Linked DNA regions of Homo sapiens: region 2 is linked to region 1. The links are contacts of gene promoters, found by promoter capture Hi-C in blood cells and fetal thymus (Javierre and others, 2016). All regions are on one chromosome and are shown on one strand. Each heading gives the region's core, a stretch centred on a gene start or on the middle of the fragment in contact. The rest is flanking DNA. Distances are from core to core; before and after follow the strand shown.

Evidence for each region. The method cuts DNA at HindIII sites, captures the fragments that hold promoters and counts their contacts. A CHiCAGO score of 5 or more calls a contact.
Region 2: a fragment that was not itself captured here is called in contact with the fragment with the promoter of KRABD3 in region 1 in 1 of 17 cell types (neutrophils); the score reaches 5.0 in neutrophils.

What each region holds. Positions count from the first base shown.
Region 1 is chr7:149,713,566-149,716,457 of GRCh38, forward strand. It overlaps KRABD3 (KRAB domain containing 3), which reads left to right and starts at 1,386. Exons shown (of 17, transcript NM_001290187.2): 1 at 1,386-1,501. The coding sequence starts at 1,490. RefSeq lists silencers at 1-207, 1,034-1,473 and enhancers at 539-1,038, 1,676-2,308. The HindIII fragment of the contact is 2,289 bases long and covers 502-2,790 here.
Region 2 is chr7:149,795,667-149,798,464 of GRCh38, forward strand. It overlaps the pseudogene SSPOP. Among named protein-coding and RNA genes, the nearest start is that of ZNF467, 23 kb to the left of the region's middle. The HindIII fragment of the contact is 8,655 bases long and covers 1-2,798 here.

The DNA.
Region 1 (2,892 bases), core at 136-2,635:
GGAGAGGAGCTGGGAGCAGGAACACATTACTGTAAGGAGCCCGCCTCACCTCGGCACGGAGGTGGGACCCGGCCTAAAGCCCAGGAGGCGACTTACCCTGAGGGCTGTGGCCTGTAGGGCTCTTGAAAAGTTGGACTTTTAAGTTTTCCCTTTCCGCGAGGTGGGGCCTTGTGATATCTTCAAATCCTTGTTCAGCAGGCTGCGCACACGCCGGTCCTGTGTCTAAGGTGTCTCGGGTATGACCGAGGGGGCTTTGCCCGAGTGGGCGTGCGCCTTTCCTCGGAGGCCGGGACGAGGGGTTGTCGGCATCGTACCCGAGTCCGTGATCATGGCCGGCGCGGCTGCAAGGGCCAGCCCCGGGCGACTGGGCGAGGAATTCCCTTTCCTTCCCTCCGATATTGCCCAGGCAGAGCGCTGTCTGGGCCGCAAGGTCTGGACGGGGCTTCCAAACTCAGAGCAGAGTCTCCTCTGCGTGGGACCACAGCCTCCCCTTCCCCTCCAAGCTTCTGTCTGGCACAGCAGGCTTAGCCCCGCAGGCCCCCTTCCAGCAGCCTTCTATAAAAATGACGGGGTCCTTCTCCAGACAGGAAAACCAGGCTCGCTGCGCCTCGCCCGCACCCCCGGAGCGCTCTCGCAGCGCCCGCCCAGACCAGGCCTTCGAACTCGTGAAGCGCAGGGGGAGGCAGAGGAGAGTGGGCCGCGCTTCCTTCCCGCATCACACGTTTATTTGAGGCCTACTATGTGCCAGGAACAACTGGGGTTACCACCCCAGCAAACAGGCACGCAAAATGTGACACGAAGGTAGGTCATGGCTGCGGCGAGCGGGGGCGCGGGCGAAAGACGTGAGGATGTACGGGGGCCTGGCAGCTGCTCTGTCCCACCCACGCCCGGCCGGACCCTCGACCCCTTTCACTCCAGGTCGGGTTTCCCCGACCGCGGCCTCTGGGAAAGATGGGTCCCTCTTCATCCCCACCATCAGCCCCTGGCACATGGGACGCGCTGAGTGGTGGCTGCGGGAATGAATGAGTGATAAGCGGCGCGTACCCGCGGGCTTGCACGCCCACAGCCGCCCCGGCTGGTCTCGGCGCGCAACCTCTACCCGCAGCTGGGGGCGGGGACGAGGGGAGGGGGCGGGGACGAGGCCCGAGCCAGGTCCGCCCCGCCCTGTCTCCGCCCCCCGCTTCCGAGCCGGCGCCGCGGCGCCTTCTGGGAAGTGTAGTCCGCGTCTGCGCCGGCCGGCCGGGCCGCCGAAGCCGGGGGCTCCGGGCGGAAACGGCACCACCCACCAAGGGATGCGAGGCGCTCGGGGCGGGCTCAACGAGGCCGGGGGCGGGCCCGGGCGCGCCCACCCCCGCCCCTCCCCCTCGGCCCAGGCCCCCGGCCCCGCCTTCTCCTGCGCGGACCTGGGCCGCCGCCGACGAGGGTCGCGTGCGCCCGCGCCAGGGCCCGCGCCGGAAACCGAGGAGTGGCGGGGAGGCTGAGCCCGGGGATGGCGCGCCAGGTAAGGCAGGCGGACGCGCGGACCCCTCGGCGCAGTGCGGCCCCGAAGGCGGTAGGGCGAGAAAGAGCTGGGACCCCCCCGCAACTTCGGGATCGGCTGGGTGAGGCTGGGCAGGCCTGATGCTCAGGGGTTCGTGCCGGGAAGTTCAGGTCCTCGGACAACCTCTCTCCAGCTCTCCGCCGCCGGTACCCACGGCCCAGTCTCCACCTGGGGAAACCCCCTTGGCGTGGCTTGTTTCGTTACAAGTTATCCTGGTAGAGTGGGCATGAAGGCCTCGGAGGCAGTGAGTAAATCTCATACTTCTGTTCTTGGTGGAATCCTGGATCCCGGGGGCTGGGGACGTGGAAATGGGGAGAAACAAAGATAGAACAAACCCCAAGTTTTGTCTTGGGAAGCCTGCAGGTAAGGCGTTTAGATCTGAGAACTGGAGGGAGAGCCCCAGGCCGTGACAGCCTGGGCACCGTTTGGGCTAGGTTGTGTGTGGGCTGTGACGATGCTGGGAAACTCTGGTGCTGATATCAGTGAGGTATCAGGTATCTGGTGCTGATACCAGCAACTGCTCCACGTTCTTCTGGATGGGCACCTGGAGCCAGTTCTGCAACCGTGGTGGCTCCTGAGCTTTGGCCAGTCCGAGGCAGCCATGGATGGGGGGCAGCGTGTGACTAGGCAGAGCAAACACTGTGCCAGGCCCTTGGCGTCATTAGTGCCCCCAAGCATTTGGGGAGAAGGGAGAGGCTAGGCAAATTGGATGTTGTTGGGCAGGGACAGTCAAGTGTCCTTTTCAGGTCTGGCTGCACAGTTAAGTAGCCTAGGGACACCCTGGTTCAGACATGCCCATGGCCCCATCCTAAGGCCTCCTCATACCACAGTTTCCTGTTCTGTAAAGTGAGGAGTTTGGGCCATTGACCTTTCAGATCTGATGAGGGGAATATCCTCACACTACGTAGCTTCATGGAGAAGGTGGCCAGGAGTGACCTTGGGGAGTGGTAGGTCACTGTAAGGTGGAGAGGAGCAGGGAGGGTTCCCAGAAGCCCAGGGCAATGTGAGCACAGCCTCCAGGTTGAGAGGTCCTGTGGCAGGGTCTGATCAGGGAGCCCGAGCCTGAGGCCCACTGGGAGAGCAGGTCTAGGTTGGGAAGGACTGTGAGAGAGGGGCAGGTCCAGCAGGCACTGAAGCTGCAGTTTTTGTGCTGGGCTAGTGACACGGTGGAAGGGTGATGTTAGGAGGACCAGTGTGCAGCTATGAGCTAGGAGGCTGCCCAGTTACAAGAGTCCTGGGTCAGCCCAGAAAGCTTTTCTCCATTGGTTGGGGGAAGGAGGTGAAGTGGGGCCCGAGGAGGAAGGCCGGTGGTGTGTGGGCAGAGCCAGCCAGTGGTGGCCTTCCTCCTCCCG
Region 2 (2,798 bases), core at 209-2,708, 82 kb after region 1:
GTATCACCCGCCCAAGGCCGATGGGGCCAGCAGCCCACCATGCCCTTTTGTGGGTTCCATAGTCTTTGTCCCCAAGGGCCTTCCAGTGTCCCCGAGGGGCATGGCCTGCATTCGATGCTTGTTGAATACCTGGTGAGTAGCAGGGACTGTGCTCTGTGGAGCCGAGGCTTGGGTGCCACTGTCACATGGATGCTGGAAACCATCCAAGTGGCTCAGACTCAGGGCAGGTATGTGAAGCCTGCAAGGGAGAGAGGATGGGGAGACACCAAGTTCACTGAGGGCCTCCGGGAGCCCAGACCCACGCACGTCTTCGTGGAGAGCAGCCTGGGCACAGCCCTGCCCTCAGGGGGTTTGCATCCTTCCCGGAGACAAACCGCACGAAGCGGTAGGAATCAGTCCGTGCTGTGTTAAGTCTTAACTGTTTCAGGAGCACCTGCTCTGTGCCAGGTGCCGAGCCAGGCCCTGGGGACACAGCAGTGAACAGGACCTGGCCTTTGCCCTAGGGGCACCTCCAGCTTAGCGAGAGGAGCTCAGTCCAGGACCAGCCCCCTCCAGCCTTGAGAGGCCCAAATGCCTACTGCCAGGGTGGGGGGCATGGCTCTGGGAGGGGCCGTGAAAACTGGGGAAAAAGTGGGGTCACTCAAAGTCATGAGGTCAGCCTGAAAAAGAGGTGAAGCTCAGTCATCCGCATCCTCTGCTGGCAGCTTTTCCCCAGAAACTGGGATGACCTGGACCCTGCCGTATGGACTTTCGGCCGCATGGTGCAGGCGAGGTTTGTCAGGGTGTGGCCCCACGATGTCCACCACAGCGATGTCCCCCTGCAGGTGGAGCTGCTGGGCTGCGAGCCAGGTACAGGTTGCGCAGGGGTGGGCAGGGCAGGAGAGAGAGGGGCCATGGGAGGAGCCCTCAGCCATACGTCCTCCACACAGGGTCCCCACCGGCACCTCTGTGCCCAGGGGTTGGACTCCGCTGTGCCAGTGGTGAGTGTGTCCTGAGAGGGGGCCCTTGTGACGGTGTTCTGGACTGCGAGGATGGCTCGGATGAGGAGGGCTGTGTGTTGCTGCCTGAGGGCACTGGCAGGTATACTGTGGCCGGCCGTGCAGCTCACGCCCTTGGCCTGGCCTTTGAGGGGACAGCCATGTGGGAGGGGCCCGGCACTGCCTTCACCCCCAAGGTGCCCAGACCCTGCATGCTGAGGAGCTGCAGCCGGGTGCCTTCAAGGCCCTTTCCCACCTGGATTCTAGGATTCCCTGCCTTTCTCATAGTTGAGTCAGGGGTTCTCCAGGTGTGGGCCCTGGACCAGCAGCATCGGCAGCACCTGGAGCTTGTTAGAAGGGCAGGTTCTCGGGCCCGCCCAGACCTGCAGGGGTGGGGTGCAGCAATGTGTGTCTTACAAGCCCCTCAGGTGATTCTAACCCATGGTCAAGTTGGGAGCTACTGTTGGGAACATCGCCTTTGTCCAGCCTCAGTGGGCAGAGTCCTTCCTGAATGCTCACTCCCGCAAAGACCCCAGGCCCAGCAAAAGCACACTGACGCCCCTGCCTGGAAGGGGGGCACTGGTGCTGGGAGGGCCCCTGGAGTCCTTTTGGCTATTTTTCTCCCCAGATTCCATTCCACAGCCAAGACCCTGGCCCTCTCCTCTGCCCAGCCGGGGCAGCTGCTGCACTGGCCCAGGGAGGTGAGTGTAGAGCCTTGGGCCCAGAGGGTGGAGTGGGGGGACGGGGACCTCGCCTCACAGCCTCACCAGCCCTGCTCCTGCACCAGCTGGCGGCGTCTCCCCTCTCCGCAGCATTTCCTCCTGTGTGTTCCCTGGTACTGCTCTCAGGAGCCTTGCCGGTGCCTGGCTGCAGAGACGTGCAGGCAGAGCGAGGGCCCAGAGGGGTTTGGGGACAAGAGAAGCCTGCACCCCTGATAGGGAGCTTATGCCCACGGGGCAGGCACCAGGGCATCTGGTGCTCAGAGCCGAAAAGAGCCCTGTGCCCGGGTCCCCAGGGGCTTCCCGGACAAGACTTGAGGGCTGGAGAGGGGTGTCTATAGTGTGGAGAAGGCGCGGAGCACCTTCCCACCTGGAATGGCCTGGTCAGCAACCCAGAGTGTGTGGGTGGGGTAGGGGGTAGGGGGTGGACATGTGCATTGGGTGGGGGAAGGGGAGTTTGAGGGGCAAGAGCTGAAATGGATCACCCTGGTGGGCTGCTGAGAATAAGGTCCCTGAGCTCCTTGAGGGCAGTGGGCTGGTGCCTGGAAGCGCAGTTGCGTGCTCAGCTCTGCCCTGGGCTGCGGGGGAGGAAGATGGACAGGAAGCAGTGCTGGGACTGTGAGCGCCCAGGCTGTATCCTCAGGGGATGGGAGCTGCCCTCAGGGCCGGGGGCTGTGCAGGGTGCTGAGCCCTCTCCCTCTGCAGGGCCTGGCAGAGACTGAGCACTGGCCCCCTGGGCAGGAATCCCCCACGTCCCCGACAGGTGTGTGCACAGACTCCAGGCCTCCTCCCCAAACTCTTGTCCCACCTGTTCTTCCAGAGCCAGGGGCCGTTACATCTCAGGGGTTCAAATCCCATGACCCCTGACTTCCCCACAACCAAGAGAGTCACGGGGTTGGCTCAGGGAGGAGACACTGGTCACTTTGGACATGGCCAGGTCCTGCCCCTGCCCACCCCCTGGGATTCCAAGGTATGTGGCTGTAGGTTGGCGGGGCAGGTAGCTCCAGGCCAGCTCCCAGGACTGAGCCTGTGCCCTGTAATGTGGCTGCCTCTCCAGATGCCTGGTCAGGACAGGTCTCCCCCATGGGGGTGGGAGGCCACT